Regions from separate parts of the Homo sapiens genome. Here region 1 is linked to region 2. The links are contacts of gene promoters, found by promoter capture Hi-C in human tissues and cell types (Jung and others, 2019). All regions are on one chromosome and are shown on one strand. The core of a region is centred on a gene start or on the middle of the fragment in contact, and the rest is flanking DNA. Distances in the headings are between cores, read along the strand shown.

Region 1 (3,251 bases), core at 269-2,768, 68 kb after region 2:
GGTGGCCGCCCTGGCCACAAACAGCTGGGGATGGAGTTCTCGGGTGGCTTCGAGCAAATTTCCCCGGGGGCGGCCACATCCCACGCAGCACACACACCAGCGAGCCTCTTCTCACCCTGGCTCCCCGCTCCTCTAGGAGCAACTTGGGGAATTCCTACACATTTAATCCCTACTGTGCGCTAAGTAGCGAAGATGGTCGTTCCATGTCACCCTCCCTGCAACCTTGCAAGGTGGGTGCTATCACCCCCAACTAAGCAGGGTGGAGGCGACAGCGGAGAAAACGAGGCTCAGAGAGGCAGAGACTTGTCCAAGGCCACATAGTTGGAAGGCACCAATGTGGGGGCTTGAATCAAAACCAGAGGAAAGATATGCCCAACATTCCTGTCCCTTGGCTCTGGGAGCCCCCGTGGAGGCAGAGATGAGTGCAGGAGTGGGTGCAGAGGTTGGCTCCTCAAAAGAATGCCAGTCCAGGCTGGGTAAACGATGGGTGCTCTGAGCGGTGGGGGGTTTCCCTCCTGCTGTGGGGCTTCCTGAAGGAATCGTGGTGGGAAGCAGGGGTTCCCCTTCAAGGGGGCAGGGGAGACACTCTGGAGTGACATTTGCCACCCACCACTCTGTAATGATCAGAGTGGGAGTAAATGGAGCTGGGCCTCAGAGTAATTGGCCGGGGAACCCTGAGTCTCGGCTCGGCCCAGGGTCACAAAGGTCCCCGAGTTAATGAAGCAAACTCTCCCCAGTGTCAGAGGCCGCCTTCAGCACCCCTACAGAGGACGAAACTTTCAGCAGCAGCTTTTCAAGGTTCCAAAAAGAAAGTTGGTGGAGGGGGGCAGAAAGGGAAGGCGTTGTTTTCATGCCTCTTGCTTCATTTGCATAAGGTGAAAAAATGTTTCCATAGAAACAACTAGAGTCTGTAATTTTTGAATAACGATTTCTGCACACAGCACAACCTGTCTTTTCCAAAGGGGAATTAAGAAATTCTCAACAGCATTTCTTACCATAACAAAAGGCAAAGTTTCCCAATTCTAGGATTGCTGCTCCAGAAGGGAGGGCCTTGGCTCCAGCCCCTGCCCTCTCTCGGCCTCAGTTTACTCCTTCTGTGAAATGGGGCGAATGAGGGTGGAATTAGACTCAGCAGGGATGAAGCCGCCTGCACCGTGGAAGGGGAGGGCGGGCGCTGGAGTGAGATGGGATTCCTGTGTCGGGGCTGGGAGGCAGCAGGGCCGGGCAGCGTTGTGAGGAGCTTTCCAGAAGAGGCGGGGGCAGGGGCTGAGGACCCGAGGACCACCCAGGCCACACGGAGAGGCCCCCGCCCGACCCTGCCCCCCGGGGTCTCCTCTGCGGCGAAGAGCGTGGGTGCAGGACCCCGGCGCGCAGCGCAGCGCAGCGGACCCGGCTCACCTGAGCGAAGGTTGCGGCCTCGCTGGCCGCCTCTGCCCCCTTGTGGCCCGAGGCCACCGCAGCACCCACTTGCCCGGGGCACTGACCTGCGTGGCTGGCTCCGCCAGGGCCTGACCTCCCTCCTGGTGCCTTTGCAGAGGGGGAGCAGCCACAGGGCCTGGGGGTGGGGTTGGGCTGGGAGAGGGACCCCAGGATCCTCTGGCCACCTGCCCTCCTCCCAGGCGTTGGCACACGTGGTTCCACGGAGGGGCTCCCTGGGGCATCTCGGGAAGTGCAGATTCCCGGGCCTGCCTCTGCAGGTCTGACTCAGGAGGCCAAGAGGTGACGGCTAAAGTGGAGAGGACCACAGCGAGGCCTGCAGAGGGTAACGTGGGGGACTTGTCTGCTCCCCCATATTACAGATGAGAAAACTGAGGCCCTGCGTGGGGGGCCCCCCCTGTCCGTGGCTTCCCACCAAGGAGGCCCTGCATGTTCTGTCCATCCTCTGACTGCTCAGCGACCAAGGCAGCTGGGTGGTGGTCCGGGTCTGTGGAGGACGGTAACCGGGGGCTGTTGTCCTTGGAGTCCCGGTCTGCCTGTATTTATCCTCCTCATTTAACTGAGGGCTGATTATTGTGCTGGGACTGGAGCTGGGCAGGCAGCAGTGCCTGGTGTCTCTGGCTTAATTACAGCTGGAGGAGACGGGAGCAATGAGGCGTGAGCTGCTGGTGACTCCAACACAGGAAACGCTCCTGCAGACGTCCTTCCCTCCTCATTTTTAAGAAATACATGTACAAAGCCTCCCCGATTGAAAAATAATGACCCCACTGGATGGTGACTTTTTGGGGGGCAGCAGGGTCTGCCCTCAGCCTAGCTTCTGGAGCCCCTCCTCACTCTGGTGCTCTCCCCTTTAGCCTCCATCTCCTGACCTCCTCCCTCAGCAGGCTTCCGACTGTCCCCTGGGCTCCAGATGGCAGGGATGGGTTTGGAGAGGTGGCACTGTGAGGTGTGGGGAGGCCTGGCTCCTGCTGGTGGTCCTGAACAGAGGCTGCCATTAGGGTTACAGGTGAGACAGATGGGCACAGATGGGCAGAGCCGATGGCTCTGGAAGTTCAGGGGGTGGCCCAGGGTGGCCCATCTTGCTGGGGCTGCAGTTTCCCTGGGCAGCTGGATGTTGGCTGGCAGCACTGGGCAAAGAGGAGACAGAAGCACAGAAACGGAATCAGGCAGCCCAGCCCAGCCCTCTGTGTCCTGCTGCAGGATAGCCTCCAGTCAGGTAAAACAGGTGGTGGCTTCAGGACTTGCACAGACAGAGCATGTGCTATGTCACTGGGAAGGAGCTCACCGGGAGACAGATGGGGCCTTGGGAAAGCGGGTTCCTGCTGTGGAGCCTCAGTTTCCTCATCTGTGACACGGGGCTTTGGTGAGGGTTGCTGTGAGAATGAAGAGTGAGTGATTTGTGAACAGCCAGCTCACGGCTGAGAGGTGGAGAAAGAAGATGGGGCTGTTCTCTTCCCCAGCTGGAGTCTTGGAGGACAGCAGCTGCCCAGAGGAAATGGAAAGTTAGGTCCGAAGGCTGCTTTGAAATGGTTGGAGGCTGGTTACCCTGAACCCAGCTCTGGTTTGGCTGCTATCAGCTGGCTCACTGGTGAAAACCTCAGAGCTTTTTTTTTTTTTTTTGGTGGGAATTAGAGCCCATGATGGGTGCATGTATTTGGAAACCATAACACTCCATTGGCACATGCGAGAGTGGTTTGCGATGGAACTCAGTCCTCACAACACTGAGGAAACACAGTTGGGAGACTGAGGCACACAGAGAAGGTGGCTCACCCAGGGCCACACGGCAGGGAGATGTGGCAGCTCTGATGGGGACG
Region 2 (3,246 bases), core at 564-3,063:
GCCAGACCCTGCGCCCAAGTCTTGGGAGAGTGGATGGAAGATCTTCCAGATTGCTTAGGGCTCATTTCCTCTCTCCAGGCCTGGGCTCTGACAGGTGTCCCCCTACTCCACCCCAGCGCATGGAAAACTCATCCTCCAGGCTGAGGTTCTAGGCAGCCCTCCCCTCCCCACTCAGCTCCCAGGTGCGAACAGCTCCAGGTTTTGACGACAAACGGAACGCGGAGCCTTGGAATCTATAAATATGAGACAAAAGCTGGGGAGGGCCCTTGGCGGCAGCGCAGCCGCCCATCGCCCAGAGCCCGTGTGCTGAGCCCGGGCAGAGCCGCATCTGCCACAGTGCTTGCTTTTCCAAGCTGCCCTGATTATAGTGAGAGTCGGGAAAATTAAGGGTTTGCAGGATGCTGCTGGGGCCCTCTCTGCCGTCTCCCCGCCCTGCGTGTCACAGATGCCAGGCAGAGCCACCCCCAACGGCCAGTTGCCCCTGCTGGCAAGACCAAGGCCAGCCTGGCAGGGCTGCACACCGCAGTTTGTTAGGGGCTTCTGCCCACAGTCCTCGTGGGAGCCTGGCCCTGGGAGTAGTGGGGGTCTCTGCTGCTCTTGGCAGGCAGAGGAACTAGGGTCCAGAGAAGGAAAAGAACCTGTCCATGGCCTCCAGAGAGCCAGAGCACTGGGGCCTCCGACGGAGCCTGGCTGTGGAGACCCCGCCCCACCCATACCCCCAGGGCCTGGACCCCCAGTCTGCACTGGCGGCCGACCTTGGCCATGCGGACTTTGCACGTGCAGTGCTCCCTATCCATCCGGCCCCGCTCCCGGGTGCCCACTCTGCTCCCATTCTGCCGGCTCAGGAGACTCCAGCGCGTCGCCCACGCTGTTCCTGCCCTGAGGAAACCACATTGGGGATGGGGTGGGGCACAGACGAGGAAGGAAACACCTCTAAACCAAGCAGGAAGCGGAAACGCTGGGGCAGAAATTCCCATCCAACGTGCTGGGGCTCAGGGAGGGTGAGCGCGCCGGCTGAGCCGCTCTGGGCGAGGCCCTGGCCTCCCTGAGCCTCAGTTTCCTCGCCTGTAAAGGGGCAGGAGGATAGTACCTGCCGCGAGGTACTGAATGGGATGGTGGTGTCCGAGGTTCGTGCGCGCCCACGCGCTGCAAACGCTCAATGAGGCGGCCCCGGGTCCAGCCTCCTTCCGGCTCCCGGGCCTTTCTCCGGCCTCCCAAGCAGGGGCTGGCCCTGCCCCCAGACGCAGGCGGGTCCAGGCCTGCCCGCACCCTCGCCACCCGCCCGGGACAGCGGCGGGTCCCCAGTCCTCCGGCCGCGCCCTTGGTCACCCGTCCCTCCTTTCCTTCCGCCGCAGGGGCGCGCGTGTCAGGGCGCAAGGACCCCGCGATAGGACCCGGGCGCTCCCGGCGGCGCGCGGAGGCTGGGCATCCCCGCCCCACCCGAGAGTGCCCAGTTCCCAGGAGACCCGGCCCGGCTCCTCCCGGGCCAGTGAAGCCTCCACGGCGGGGGCGCAGCGCGGAGGGGAGCGGGGCGGGGGGCCGGCCACCTCCCGCGCTGAGCAGGGACCGCCCCAGGCGTGGGTGGCGCCCGCCCCGCCTCCGCGCCCGCGCCCGCGCCCTGCCCTCCCGGCTCGCAGGTACTCACCGCCCGGCGCAGCCGGCCCGGCCGGCGACCGCCAGTCCACATGGCCCCAGGGCAGCCGCGCCGCTCACCGCCGCCGCCGCTACCGCCGCCCCCTCCCCTCCGAGGCCGAGCGCGCCGGGAGCCGGCGCGGCCGGGGCTCCCCCACCCCGCCCGGCTTCCCGCAGGGAGCGCCCGCCCCCCGCCCCCAGCCCGGCTCCCCGCCAGCCCCGGCCCCGCGCAGCCGCGGCTGAGCCCGCGCGTCCTCCCGGCAGCGCCCGGCCGGGGCGCAAGTGGTGGGCGCAGGGCCGGGCAGGGGCGCGGGGGTGCGGCGTGCGCGGGGGCCAGGCGAGGAATGGCAGAGGGGCAGGGAATGAATGAACCCGCGCCAGCTTGAATGGCTGAGCGCGTGAATGAATGAGTGCGGTAGAGCATGCGGGGCTGGGGGGGCGGGGGGAATGAATAAATGAGAGAACTAATGCACGGGCGCGAAGGTGAGTGACAGAGTGAATGGGCCCTTGAAACCCAGAGGCTGTCAGTAATGACCTGCCCAACCTTTTCATCGGTCCATCCATTCAATCCCTCAACATTTATTAGACACCTAGTGTGTACCAACCAGCCCTGCTGTAGGCCCCAGGGGGTACAGTAGCGAGTGAAACCAAGCTCCTGCCCTCGCAGAGTCACATTTTACAGATGAGGAAACCCTGGCTCCCAAGGGTGCCTCCTGGCCAAGCTGCCCCTTACCCTGCCCTTGCTCTGCCCGAGCCCCCAGTCGGTGGCTTCCAGGGCTTGCCTTCTCCCCAAGGAGCTCTCAGGAAGGGAAGGTGGCTTCAGGAGGACCAGTGTTGCCCCCTGCCTATCCCTCCAGTCTGAAGCATCCCACCGACCTGCCCGGTAGAGCCCAGGCTGGCCAGTCCTACCCTGGTAAAGGTGCAGCGTGAACCCTCCTCTCTCCTCCCAGAGCGGGCAAGGGGCAGCCCTGAGGGTGCCAGCTACATGAGGGTCTTCCATCCCAGCCAGCCCAGCAGCAGCCAGCGTGGGAACCCGGGGAGGAGCACTGGCAGCCAGGGAGGGTCCTGCGTGGTGGAAACAGAGCTGGCAAAGCCCGTGTGCTTCGCTCATATCCTCCCTCGGGACCTATGGGCTCATGGTTCACACATGCTTATATCATTTCCAAGTACATGGCAGATTAGAAGATGCTGCGAATGAGTACCTTGTATATTTTTGTTTTTTAATTGTGGAAAACATGGAAAACATAAAATTTACCATTTTAACCACTTTTAAAGTGTACAGTTTGGGGACACTGAGTTCCCACTGTTGAGCTGCCATCACCACCATCCTTATATGCTGTATGTTGTATGCTTTGCAGTTTCTACGCTCTCTCATTTAATCTGGGGAGTAGGTTGCTACATTCAGGCAGTGTCAGTGCTGAGAAAAGGCACTGATAGCAAGGCAAGAGGGGAAACCCAGAAAAAAAGGAGACAAGCAAAAGAACCAGCAGCTGACTGGAGCCACTTCGTGTCAAGCAAAGTCCTGTCTCTGCTCCCTCTCAGGTCCCAGGGACATGATTGGGTAACCAATGGACAGAGGGAGGCGCCTCCAAGTGCACCCCACCACAGTCAAGA

Evidence for each region. The method cuts DNA at HindIII sites, captures the fragments that hold promoters and counts their contacts. A contact is called where the count stands out against the background at its distance.
Region 1: a contact is called between a fragment that was not itself captured here and the fragment with the promoter of BEGAIN in region 2, in 3 of the 25 tissues and cell types used here (mesendoderm cells, small bowel and spleen).

Annotation. Positions count from the first base shown.
Region 1 is chr14:100,653,528-100,656,778 of GRCh38, forward strand. No RefSeq gene overlaps it. Among named protein-coding and RNA genes, the nearest start is that of LINC00523, 2.1 kb to the right of the region's middle. The HindIII fragment of the contact is 5,505 bases long and covers 1-3,251 here.
Region 2 is chr14:100,585,604-100,588,849 of GRCh38, forward strand. It overlaps BEGAIN (brain enriched guanylate kinase associated), which reads right to left and starts at 1,814. Exons shown (of 7, transcript NM_001385089.1): 1 at 1,646-1,814. The coding sequence starts at 1,687. The HindIII fragment of the contact is 7,942 bases long and covers 1-3,246 here.